Linked DNA regions of Homo sapiens: region 1 is linked to region 2. The links are contacts of gene promoters, found by promoter capture Hi-C in blood cells and fetal thymus (Javierre and others, 2016). All regions are on one chromosome and are shown on one strand. Each heading gives the region's core, a stretch centred on a gene start or on the middle of the fragment in contact. The rest is flanking DNA. Distances are from core to core; before and after follow the strand shown.

Evidence for each region. Contacts are between HindIII fragments. The CHiCAGO score rates a contact against its expected background, and 5 or more counts as called.
Region 1: a fragment that was not itself captured here is called in contact with the fragment with the promoter of GHITM in region 2 in 1 of 17 cell types (naive CD8 T cells); the score reaches 7.3 in naive CD8 T cells.

Annotation. Positions count from the first base shown.
Region 1 is chr10:80,069,514-80,076,459 of GRCh38, reverse strand. All of the region lies in intron 1 of TMEM254-AS1 (TMEM254 antisense RNA 1), which reads left to right. Among named protein-coding and RNA genes, the nearest start is that of TMEM254, 5.7 kb to the left of the region's middle. The HindIII fragment of the contact is 1,968 bases long and covers 1,672-3,639 here.
Region 2 is chr10:84,136,065-84,142,562 of GRCh38, reverse strand. GHITM (growth hormone inducible transmembrane protein) reads right to left here and starts at 3,054. Exons shown (of 9, transcript NM_014394.3): 1 at 2,970-3,054; 2 at 934-1,101. The coding sequence starts at 1,062. RefSeq lists a silencer at 2,774-2,973 and enhancers at 2,547-3,116, 3,117-3,686. The HindIII fragment of the contact is 9,095 bases long and covers 1-4,677 here.

The DNA of each region.
Region 1 (6,946 bases), core at 1,406-3,905, 4.1 Mb after region 2:
TGCCCAGGCTGGAGTGCAGTGTTGCGATCTCGGCTCACTGCAACCTCTGCCTCCCCACTTCAAGTGATTCCCCTGTCTCAGCCTCCTGAGTAGCTTGGATTACAGGTGTGCACCACCACGCTTGGCTAATTGTGGAGACGGGGTTTCACCATGTTGGCCAGGCTGGTCTCGAACTCCTGACCTCAGGTGATCTGCCTGCCTCGGCCTCCCAAAGTGTTGGGATTACAAGTATGAGCCACCTCGCCCGGCCTACTCTATGTGAACAGCACTTTCTTTCTACCTTGTACCCAGATTCCTTGCTTTGACTTCCCCCATATCATATAAAGATTGCAGACTAATCAGCTGTCAAGAGTTCTACTGATTGGGTAATACAATATCTAATCCTTCTAGATTAAATCATGGCTTCATCTCCACTGTCTCATGAGTCAGTCACTCCTTCCTACTTCCTGCCACTTCAGCCCACATGCAGTCCCTTTATTGAATCTGTCTGACAAATAACAGGATCATCTTTTTCAAGTACAGTTCTGATCAAGCCTTTACCATACCAAAACTTTTTTTTTTTTTTGAGACAGAGTCTCACTCTATTGCTCAGATTGTAGTGCAATGGCGCAATCTCAGCTCACTGCAACCTTGGCCTTCTGGGTTCAAGTGATTCTCCTGCCACACTCTCTCTAGTAGCTGGGACTACAGTCACATGCCACCACACCCAGCTAATTTTTTGTATTTTTAGTAGAGATGGGGTTTCGCCATGTTGACCAGGCTGGTCTCAAACTCCTGACCTCAGGTGATCCACCTGCCTTGGCTTCCCCAAGTGCTGAGATTACAGGTGTGAGCCACCATACCCAGCCTACCTTACCAAAAGTTTCAAGAACTTCCCCAATTTTAGGCTGCCGTTTTTCAGTATTTCTATTTAGGTATTAAATCTGCAACGAGGGAGATATTGGAGAAATTATTCATGCTACAAGAAATGTTGGAGAGGCAAAATGGCTTCAGTCAACAGACTACAGGGAGCTAGGTTTTAGTTTCATGTCTTCTACAACCCTGCTTGGAGCCCAGCCTGTTACTTAGTGTCCTATGTCTTCCAACTCCACACTATTTTTTTTTTTTTTAATAGAGACGGTGCTTCACTATGTTGCCCAGGCAGATCTCAAACTCCCAGCCTTAAGTAATCCTTCCACCTCAGCCTCCCAAAGTGCTGGGATTATAGTTAGAGGCTGTACCTGGCCACCAACAGCTCAACACTAAACATCTTACTGTTAGCCCCTCACGCACAGATAAGGAATCCAGAAGACAGTACCAGAAGATCTTTGTTCAGATGTGAGTAGTTTATGTAAATTCATGAAGAACTTACAGTCAACTGGATGTTCAGAAGGCATTCCTTTCTTCATTACAGTCACCCTTCACACACGGCAGGGGTGACTGAATTCTCTAAGGTCCAGGCACCCTACACTGCTGTCCCATCTGAATTGGCAGAGAAATATCTCATCCCTGGACATTTTTATCCCCCTGTCTAGATGGATTAGTGACCTAAATATGAAAAATAATGAAGAAAGTCTGGGAGAATAGTTTTACAACTTTTGAGGGAGGGGAAGGAAACCTTTTAGCAAGTTATTAAAATTAAAAGCCATAGAAGGAAAGATTGAAAATTTAACTGCATCCAGATGAAAAGCTTCATTCATATGAATGACACTGTAAATAAAGTTGAAATACCTGGAAGAAGGAATTCTCCAATATATGTAATTGACAAATGATTAAAGGATATGAATTGGGCATCCTCAAAAGAGAAAACTTGAGACCAAGCAAAATGAAAGGATGGTTCAATCTTAATGGCCCTATGGGATACGCAAAATAAAGCAAAAATAACATTGTTTTTCCTCATAAGATTGGCCTACTAGATATCAAGACACACTGTAAAGAGCTATAATAATGTAAAACATTTGGCACTTGACATGCAGAAATCAACAAATGGATCAATGAAAAAATAATGCAGACTCCAGACATGGATCTGGTATATACATATCCAAGCGTTTATTTTATAATAAAGGTAACATTTCAAATTAAGGAAGGAATAATGGATTATTCAGTAAATTATTTTGGGGCAATTAGTTATCTATTCCAGAAAAAATATTTTAAATAATACTGTCCACTCCCAAACACAAATACACAAATGATGCAGTATCAAGAGATACAGAGGTATTAATAAGTAGTCCTCCTTGGGGAGTTATGATGAGGTGGCTATAGGATGGACAAGTGCTGAGATACAGCAAAAAACTCCCACACCTTCCCAGGATTATAGGATGGGGGAAGGGCGACCTAAACAAATTTACAGAAATTTGAATAGAATATTGTGTGTCCAGGGAATTAGGAGAAATTTTTTGTTGCTAGAAAAAAACAATGTGAAGAAATTGAGTGAAGGAAGTTGAGGCTGCAAAGACAGGTGGAGTCCTGATCATGAATGGCATTTGGTATCAAACCGAGGGGTTTTGATTTGATCCCTTAGCCAAGGTGAGTCAGTGAAATTCTGTTTGTTTTATTTAATTAATGTATTTATTATTTGTAGAGACGAGTCTCCCTATGTTGCCCAGCTGGTCTTGAACTCCTGGGCTCAAGTGATCCTCCTGCCTCAGCCTCCCAAACTGCTGGGACTACAGGTCAGGCTTGGGCCACCATGCTGAGCTAATTATTATTATTATTATTATTATTATTATTATTATTATTATTTTTAATAGAGATAGGGTCTCGCTATGTAGCCCAGGCTGGTTTTGAACTCCTGAGCGCAAGCTATCCTCCCACCTTGGCCTCCCAAAATGCTGGGATTACAGGCATGAGCAACCATACCTGCTCTGTTTGTTTTAACTAGTGGAGTGAACATATCTTGTGTACATTGGATGGAGGTAAAATTGGAAGGAAGGAAGGAGGAGAAGAAGAAAAATTATTGAAACAGTATAATGAGAATGGAGAAGGAAAATGCTACATTTTTTAGGTAGGGAAACCAAGGAATCATTCACTCAAATAGTCAAGAAATATTTCTGAAGACCGGCTGGGCGCGGTGGCTCACGCCTGTAATCCCAGGACTTTGGGAGGCTGAGGCGGGCGGATCATGAGGTCAAGAGATGGAGACCATCCTGGCCAATGTGGTGAAACCCCGCCTCTACTAAAAATACAAAAATTAGCTGGGTGTGGTGGCGCGTGCCTGTAGTCCCAGCTACTCAGGAGGCTGAGGCGGGAGAATCACTTGAACCCGGGAGGCACAGGTTGCAGTGAGCCAAGATTGCGTCACTGCACTCCAGCCTGGTGACAAAGCAAGACTCCATCTCAAAAATAATAAAATAAAATAAAATAGTAATAAAATTTAATTTCTGAAGACCAGTGTAGTGTCAGTTATGGTGCTAGGCTCTGGAAATATGAATATAAACCAAAAATAATATTCTAAGGCCCCCCCCTAACTATCTGAATGGACTTTCTTCTCAGCCAGGGCTCTTTTAAAATGTAACCTGAGAGACTGGTTCAGGCCATGACTGAAAGTGGGAGTCAGACATGCCTCATTATACCTTTCTGGCATTGACATCAACATAGACTGTAAGTCTGATAAGAAACATTTTACAACCTGTTCTCTCTGAAGCCTACTACCTGAAAGCTTCCTCTGCAAATAAGAACTTGAGTCTCCACAATCCTTAACCCAGATATTCCTTTCTCTTGATCCCAGGTATTTAGATAAACTCAACCAATTGTCAACCAGGGCTGCGTGTGGTGGTTTATGTCTGTAATCCCAGCAGTTTGAGTGGCCGAGGTGGGCAGATCACTTGAAACCAGGAGTTTGAGGCCAGCCTGGCCAACATGGTGAAACCCCATCTCTACTAAAAATGCAAAAATTAGCCAGGTGTGCTGGTGCATGCCTGTAGTGCCAGCTACTTGGAAGGCTGAGGTGGGAGGATCACTTGAATCTGGGAGGGAGAGGTTGCAGTGAGCTGAGATCATGCCACTGCACTCCAGCCTGGGTGACAGAGTGAGTTCCTGTCTCTAAATAAATAAATCAATAAAAATAAAAAATACAATAACAACTGTCAACCAGGAAATTAAACATCTACCTAGATTTTTTAAAAAAGAATAATCTTCGGCTGGGCACGCTGGCTCACGCCTGTAATGCCAGCACTTTGGGAGGCCGAGGCGGCCAGATCACGAGGTCAGGAGATCAAGACCATCCTGGCTAACGCAGTGAAACTCCGTCTCTACTAAAAATACCAAAATTAGCCGGGCATGGTGGTGGGCGCCTGTAGTCCCAGCTACTTGGGAGGCTGAGGTAGGAGAATGGTGTGAACCCAGGAGGTGGAGCTTGCAGTGAGCCGAGATTGCACCACTGCACTCCAGCCTGGGGGACACAGCAAGACTCTGTCTCAAAAAAAAAAACAAAAAACAAAAAACAAAAAAAAAGAAAACAAATAATCTTCTCTTGTACAATTTTTGATAAATAAGATATGGAATGAGAAACTGAACTGTTGCTTTCGTAGGTAAATGAGAGTCTGAGTTTCCTTAGCTCCAAAGAGAAAGGGCATTTTACTCCTCCCAGCTGAAAGGCACCCCTGGGTGACCAGGGGCCTTGTGGGAGTGTCTGTGAGGTTCACCCACCCATCATGACATGTAGCGCAGCAGCCCTACAGGGAACCCCCAACAAAATTAGTTTTAAAAAGGCTCATCCAGGAAGCACGTATGGGAGCTCCAGGTTTTGAGCCCTCTGAGAGGTGCTAGAGCTTCAGAGAGAGAAATTGAGACACATAAGAGGGCAACGATGACTCAGGGGTGACACCGTGGAGTCCTGCCTGCAACCAGCACACTTCCACCCATTCCACAAAAGCCCTAGGCCACAGCTCAGTTCCTCCTTTAAAAAATACTGGGAAACAAATAATCTAAGTATGAGGAGAAAACAAGGAGAATGACCCCCTTTGGGCACTCCATCAGTATTATGGTGGCTCTACTTACTAGAGTTTATGTGAAATTGAAGTATTATGGTGTTTGTGCACATTTACATTAAGGAAAAAGAGACCTAAGGTTGACCTGCAAACTATAGAGTTCCTAAGTTCTCCTTTTCTTTGTTTTCTTTTCTGTCTGACTTACATCTGCTGTTACTTTTCTATTGAGATTAAAAATCACTGGTTTTTTTTTTTTTTGAGATGGAGTCTCACTCCATCATGCAGGCTAGAGTGCAGTGGCACGGTCTCAGCTCACTGCAACCTCCACCTCCTGGGTTTAAGTGATTCTCCTTCCTCAGCCTCCCGAGTAGCTGAGATTACAGGCATCCACCACCACGCCTGGCTATTTTTTTTATTTTTAGCAGAGACGGGGTTTTGCCATGTTGGCCAGGCTTGTCTCAAACTCCTGACCTCAGGTGGTCCACCGCCTTGGCCTCCCAAAGTGCTGGGATTACAGGCATGAGTCACAGTGCCTGGCCTAAAACCACTTTTTGATCTAAACTTTTTTTTTTTTTCAACCCAGTGCATTTGTATTTATCTCATGACTAAAGTTCAGAAGTAAAAGCTATGGGATTTTTTGTGTGTATGTGTGTATATGTGTGTGTATATATATTTAAAAGGCTTTTATAGTAGATTTATATAATTTTAATTGGTAATTAAATTCATTTTAACTTCACTCTAGCACACCTGACTTTTCCTCTTGAGATGTAAATTTTGCTAATTGATTTTTCACTTGAGTTGTTTCCTTTAATATGCAAATTTAGTACTTTAGCTAAAACTGCCTAGGGTAATAAAATGGGTTATCAAGAATTTAAAAGTCTAAGGAAAAAAAAATAGGTCTTATGAATCTGTAAGCTGTACTTCTATTGGTATGCCTAATATGTCTATGTATTTCTGTGTTGTGTATATAATATTTTACTACTAAAAAGATATAAAAGAGCTTGCATTAAGTGGTTTAAAGAAAAATGAAAGTGCTTAAATCAAATACTTTATCAAAAAAAAAAAAAGACTAGTCAAATGTTTTTCAAGTTCATGTGAGATGGGATAATTCCCTTGACCCCTTTCATGGGTGGGAACTGGAGTGGCTGGTTTCATTGAGCCAGCAGCTGTCCACTCCTTGCAAGAGGGATCATGCATGCTAGTGAGTGCAGGAACTGGAGCGAACAAATGCTGGAACTGGCTAGTTGCTCCTCTCTGGCAGGAGCAGGCTCTGTGTGGGCCCCGCAGCAGCATCCAAGTATATTACAATCAATGCTCTTTCAGCTCTGCTGTCCAGAGATGGCCAAGTGCCAGCTAGCTCAGTGGAGGGTCAGGGTGGCAGCAGCTGTCCTCTAGGCACTTGGGTTCTTGTCTGACATCCAGGTCACACAAATGGATTGAAGGGTAGTGTATAAGGAGGATTTTACTGGGTAATGGAAGTGGCTCTCATCGGGATGCGGAGGTGAAAAGGCAATGATGTGGGAAGAAGGTGATCTTTCCCTGAAGCCTGGCTGTCTCTGGCTGGGCCGCTCTCTGAAGCCGCACTATCTGAAGTTTGTCGTGTCTATCCATAGTCTCGAATGTTCAGTTGCTTCTCTGCTTGCCACTCAGCCACTTGTATTCCCACCACTCAGCTGCTTGTGTTGCTCTGCCAGTTGAAATCTTTTTTTCTTTTCTTTGTTTTTTTCTTTCCTGTTTATTTTTATTTTTATTTTTTCTTTAGCAACTGAAGTCTTTTTATGGGCACAGGATAGGGGTGTGGCAGGCCAAAAAGGCATTATTTAGGTGGAAAAACAGGGTCAGCTGTTTTCCCTTAGGGCCGTGGTCCAGGCTGAATGGTGGGGTTTAGCCCTGAGCCCAGCCCTTCTGTATCACATGTGACTTAAGTAAAATCTTTAATAAATAAGCTTGCTTTAAAATTGTTGGTAAAATAATACTAGAAATGTCTTAAGAATTGTTAGTATTTTTGTTTGCATTTATTGATCAAGTGGTTTCATGCT
Region 2 (6,498 bases), core at 1,805-4,304:
TAGTTAAAGAAACTTGGTACTTTCTATATACCTAACTTCACTATGGAAATTTATTAGCCAACTTAAAAAACTAAATGTAAAAATAAATAAATAAATGTAGACCTTCCCTGTGCTCCACCTTTGGAAGTTAGTAATTCATTATATTATTCTTAGTTTCAATTTCAGAAAAATTGTTTCTTTCACAAACTATAGATTTACATACCTAGAATTGTTATATTTTAAATCCTAACCAAATACCAGGGTGAGAATCTGTTAGCATTTTTAAGATATGCATTCTACAAGCATTATTAGCTATATTTTGTCATCTGGGATATGGACTCAAGAACAGCATCTTTCCTTAACATGAAGCCAAGAAGAGGGAAGACTACTACTTCCATTGTGGCTCTTTTTCAACAGTGGAACAGTTAATTTAAAAGAGAAAATGTCTCCTAGCTTCTTTATATTGTCCTCATTACCTCACACTTCAAACCTTATAATCTGAATGCCAGAAGATAAATCTATTATAAAAATGGGTTTCTTTCTAACCTGACAGATATTATCAACCTCTAAATAAGAGATAATATATTTAGTAATTTATTAATAAGCTATTGGCCAACTGGTAATATCCCTGGGTTCTTAAACTTCTGACTATGTGCTCCAGGATCTCCGTTACACTATGTAACTCTCAATCCCTCACAATGTACTCTAAATTTTCTAAATGAGAAACTCCAGAAGCTGTAAGCGAAGACAGAGTTACAGAAACTCATTTTCTATTTCATATGGGATAAGGAGGGACCAGAATGATACAAACTAATGGGGAGAAAGAGCTGATTGGGGATATTATCAGGGCTAACTGACGTATAACACACTAAAGGCAGAGCAGCCATACTCTGCCAAAAAGAAAGGGCACAAATGGAAAAAGAAGCAATATAAAAACATTCAGATTATCTTTACCCTGCTAGGTGTTAACAGCCATTGATTCTTCGTGATGGAATTCTTCACAACAGGGGAGGCCTTGGTGAAAGCTGGGTGGAAAACCCTAGAAGGTAGTGTCCGGAGACACACCAGCCTTGCAGCCAACATGGTGGTGGTGCACCAGGTCTACCGAGCAGATCTGAAATGCTAGTTTAAAAAAAAGGCAAAACCAACCAAAAAAACATAAGTAAAACAACCTACTAACCAATTAAGAGAAGGACATATGAGAGTCAGAGTCAAGGAACAAACTATTTTTTAGTAGAACAGGAAATAAAGCGACCTTTTTAATTTTCAGCGATGAATTCTTTGCCCAACCATCCACTGTAATGCAAGAAACCCATCCCAGAGAACACAGCTGAAGATGGAGGAACAAACTAGGTTTAAGTCCCAGTTTGACCAATCAAAATAGATGACTGCAAAAATTATGTGTAACACAGAACGGCTGTTAATAACTGGACGTGATTACAGAGTCTGTGATGGTTTTTACAAATGTAGTTTTGGCTTAAGATTTATACCAGCATCCAGTGGGAAAATTTAAAAGAATCTACATAACTTTTGGGCAAAGGAATAGTGTCATCCAAAGAAGACATGAATAGCTCTTCAAGGTTATACTGCATTACAAAGCTAAAAGGTATTAAAAGAAGCCAACTATATGAATTTCAGCTAATCATACCAAATATTACTTTCCTTCAACATGAGATATAAAAATATTCTAAGTTAACCTATTCTATATGTCCTACTATAATGCGTAAAGGACATTTAGTCTTTCAAAGTAAACAAGTAAACTCAGTTACCAACCAGGTTTCCCTTACATTAGACTCCCTCGATGGTGTCTTCAAAAGAAAAGCATGCTAAAAACTGGATTATCTTAGCTCCAGGGCACATTATACTAGATGGGTGGTCAACCAGAAGTCAGCAGACAGTGTTTCTGTAATGCTAAGGTGAGGTGACTACAATAGGTCAGAATGAAATGACGAGTGTAAACCAACTGGGGCTACCAGCCCATCTCTGCCAATGATTTGTAGTGAATTCTAGGCAAGTGATATACTTCTGGGCCCATTTCCCCATCTGTAACATAAGGATTCCGTGTTCAGACTACAGCGTTGACCCTTAGACTACCTGCTTGAAAGTGCCCCGGATGCATCTTAAAATGTAGGCTCCTGGGTCTTTCTTTGCTCCTAATGATTCTACCCCTAGGAATAAGACCAAGAACGTGTGTTTTAACGAACACTCCAAAAGCTAAGAACTATTGCTTTAAGATACCCGAGCGTCCTCCGAGCTCTGCAACTGAACTATTAAGGGTCTTAAAATTCGGCACCCGGCCTTTGGGAAAACACCCAGCGCTTTTGGAACTTTCGTGCCATTACATCATCTCAACCTATGGCTGTCCTGTATCTTCCTCAGTACTCAGTCCACTGGTTGGGGCCGAAGAGGTCCAGCTCAGAGTGACCTCCATGTGGCGTAACAGCCCAGAGTGGGAATCCCGCTTCTGACAGGTTAGAAGTGACCTTGTGAGGAGTGTGGATCTCTAAGACTCAGATGTCGTTGCTATAAAATGGGGAAAATACTACCGACCCTAATCCAAGGGCTTATGCCTCCGTGAGCATTGATGAGTTTGGGTGCCTGGTCCCCGAGAAAGTTCACCCAGCCCGCTAGATTCAGATGAGAACCCGGCAGCAAACTTCCCTGTCAACCCACAACACCTCTGCCCCTGCCCCAGGTGCCGCTACCAGCGCAGCGGCTGTACGGCCTCGCCGCAAGGATGACTCAGCACCTTGTTGCCCGAGGACAGAAGCACAGCTACACTGAGCCCTTGCCCGCCTGACCAGGGCCTTGTGCCGCCGCCCTCTCCACCAGGTCACCCACAGGACTGCGACCCCAACGCGCAGGCCGGCCCTGACGCAGCCAGCAGCACCGCTGCTTCCAGCCCTTCCCCCCGCACCCAGCGGTCCCGTGAGGGCGGCTGTCAGGACCACCGGGGATCCCGGGCGCCCGCCGGCCAGCCGGAGCAGTACCTCGGTCCCCGGTCACCTTCGCCTCGCAGTTTCCCTTCCGGGCCCCTAGCGTCGGCCTCAAAGAGCACAGTTCCTCCGGCGCACTGCATGACGCAACATCGAAAGGACGTAAATAGTACGAGCAGCCAATCACGGGCAGGCCTCTGTCGGAAAAGCGGCCACACTGGGGGAGGCGGGGTTCCGGGTTGAGGAGGCGGGGTTCCAAATTGGTGGGGCGGGGCCAGTTGAGGATTGTTGCAGGGAACGTCATAGTCAGCGTCCATTTTGCGTGTGGGCATGGGAGTCGTCTCGGCCATCTTTGTTTTGGGCAGTGGAGCTCTGTTTTGCTTTTGTTTTAGTCGTTTCACTCGCCGCAGCTATAAGAATTATGTAAAAATTGAAAGAAAGTAATGTTAGAGTTAAAAATTATTCCGTTTATTCCGTTCCTTTTTGAAGGCCTTTTTGTCCCTTAATTTATCGTGAGATAAATATCTTTTCAAATGTGTCTGCTTCTGAGCCGAGTCATCCGGTTTCTGGGGTCTCATGCCAAATGTTAGATGGTGACATCCAGAAAAGATTTTTTCTAGATGGTTTTTTCATTGCTTTGTGACTTTCCCGCCCACATTTTCAAGTTTCACCCTAAACCTGTGTAATAGGCCTGATAACAGCCGCCTCTGCCTTGCACCCAGGATTGCTCTGAGGACTAAGATGTTTCCATTGCGCGTAATTTGATAGGTGAAGAGCTAGTTGTGGAATACGCGAGAGAGTTACTTTCTTTTTCACTCTCCCTCTATTTCAACAGATATTTACTGAATGCTCAACTTCGTACCAAGCTCTGTTCTAGAAATATATACAAATGAATCAGCCGGGCGTGGTGGCTCAAGCCTGTAATCCCAGTACTTTGGGAGGCCGCGGCGGGTGGATCACTTGAGGTTAGGAGTTCGAGACCAGCCTGGCCAACGTGGGGAAACCCTGTCTCTACTAAAAATACAAAAATTTGCCAGGCGTGATTGGTGCCTGTAATCTAAGCTACTTGGGAAGCTAAGGCAGGAGAATCACTTGAACCCAGGAGGCGGAGGTTCCAGTGAGCCCAGATCCCGCAACTGCACTCCAGCCTGGGCGATAGAGGGAGACTCAGTCTCAAAAAAAAAAGAAACCAAAAAAACAAAAACAAAAAAACAGCAAATGAATTAAACCCGTGTGTGCTACCACTATTTTAACAAAATAAAGTCCTTGCTCTGTGGCTTTACTTTCTGGTAGAGACAGAACATAGAAAAAATATAATGTGATAACTTAATACCATGAAGAAAGAGCAGATTAAAACCCTGAAAGGGTGATAAGGTGATTAACAACATGCAAAATTCATGAACCTTTATCTCCTAAGCAGTAGTTAATTGTGATTTATGATTCCTAATCATGTAAACCTTGACAAATATAAAGACTTGCCTTCTATGTGGATAATAAAAGAGTCTGGCAGCAACACAATTCTTATCTCTTTACGCTGAAAATGGCAGGAAAACACTAGAGAAATCTCACGAAACTGAACAGATCAAGCATGATCAGTTTAATTTTTATTTTGATCTATGCCCAATTTTATTAGCTAGCAAATAGGTTTTCTGTTTGGCTCCTTCAGTGATAGTCTTTTTTTCTAGAGCTTCTGTTATCAGCAAAGAGAAAGGATTTACAACACAGTACCAGAATAAAGATCTTGAAGTCAATGACTCAAGCTTTCTTCAAGATTCCTATTAAAGCTTATTCTCTCCATATTGGAAGAAAAATGTCTGATTTCATATTTTCCTTTCTCAAGTAAAGGGCTTGTATTGTTGTTTCCACAGGGGTCAAATATTTTGAAGCAGGGGAGGAATCTGGTCATATCATTGGGAAATATATGCTCTTGTGGCAGTGTAGGAAGGGAGAGGTTCCATGGACCAGGAGACCAATTAGGAATTTATTGTAGTTGTTCAACCAAAAGGCAATAAAGGCTGGAATTAAGCCAGTAGAAAGACACAGAGGGGTTTATGACAGAGATATATTGCTGAAGTGGAGTTTGCAGGATTGAATGGTCGGTCAAATATAGCTGATAAGAATGAGGAAGGCTCCCTGAGTAATCCTTCTGAACTGGGTGGATAATTTTATCATTAATTTAGCAATAGGATACAGGGAGAGATACAAGTGAGGGGAAGTAGATACATAAAACTTAGTTTGAAGTGTTTAATTGTTAAGTTCTCTGCTTCTAAGTTCTTAGAGTGTAGGATAGAGAAAAGGACAAGCCGGGAATGGTGGCACATGCATGTAGTCCCAGTTACTGGGGAGGTAGCCCAGGAGCTTAAGGCCGGCCTGGGCAACATAGGGTGATGCTGTCTTTAAAAATAAATAAGTAGGCTGTGTGTGGTGGCTCACGCCTGTAATCCCAGCACTTTGGGAGGCCGAGGCGGGTAGATCACAAGGTCAGGAGATTGAGACCATCCTGGCTAACATGGTGAAACCCCGTCTCTACTAAAAATACCAAAAAAAAAAAAAAAAAAAAAAAAAATTAGCAGAGCATGGCGGTGGGCACCTGTAGTCCCAGCTGCTCGGGAGGCTGAGGCAGGAGAATGGCATGAACCCAGGAGGTGGAGCTTGCAGTGAGCCGAGATCGTGCCACTGCATTCCAGCCTGGGCAACAGAGCGAGACTCCACTTCAAAAAAATAAAAAATAAAAAATAAAAGAATAAATAAGTAAATAAAAAGGAAAAGACATGATTCGTAAATTCCAATACTATATATATGTCACGGTTTTTATTACAGTCTGCTGATGAATTCCTTATTCTCCACTTGCTGGCTAAGTGAGATATGCTGCATTATAGTGGAGAAAACTCAGAGCCAGGACAAAAGATAAAATATTTTATTTACTTTCAGTTAAAATAAATGCTCTCACCTTGCCCTACTATGCTTTCCCATCAGAAGATGTGGTATGAATGAAACAGAGTTGGAAAGGGAGTTTGCTGGGGCTTTAACCTCTGCCCTCCCTGATGGAGTCTCCCAACAAAGGGAAGGTGCTTCTTCCTGAAAGGTTGCAGATGTTTCTGAATGTAGGGACCAATTGGCACCTGCTTCTCATGTGGTTGCTAAGTGGCAGACAACAGAGCAGGTAGGAAAGTTACAAGATCTTCCCCATCTTGGCCTTGTTTTCCCTTGGAATCCCTAAGGTCTAGATAAACACAAGAATGTGATTGTGAGCACGCACCTGCTTGTTTGCACCCTTCGAGATGCTGCTCAGTAGTGAGGCGACACTAGAAGTATGTGTGGGTGAGATGCCCAGATGGGCACCAACAGACCATTTAGTGTATGACAAGGCAGAGCCATTTGACTCTGCTTGGGTGAGAGATCAAACTGTGCCAACTTCAAAAGTTATATCCTGCCAGCCACAGAAAGACAATGAAGCCATGGGGACTACTCCCTTTAGATTTTGCTGAACGGCAGCTGCATGACAATGCAATGACTAAGAGGTAGAGTGGAAGGACAGAGAAGCTACACTTTTTCCCCTCCTGTTTAATGTAAATGTTTCTAA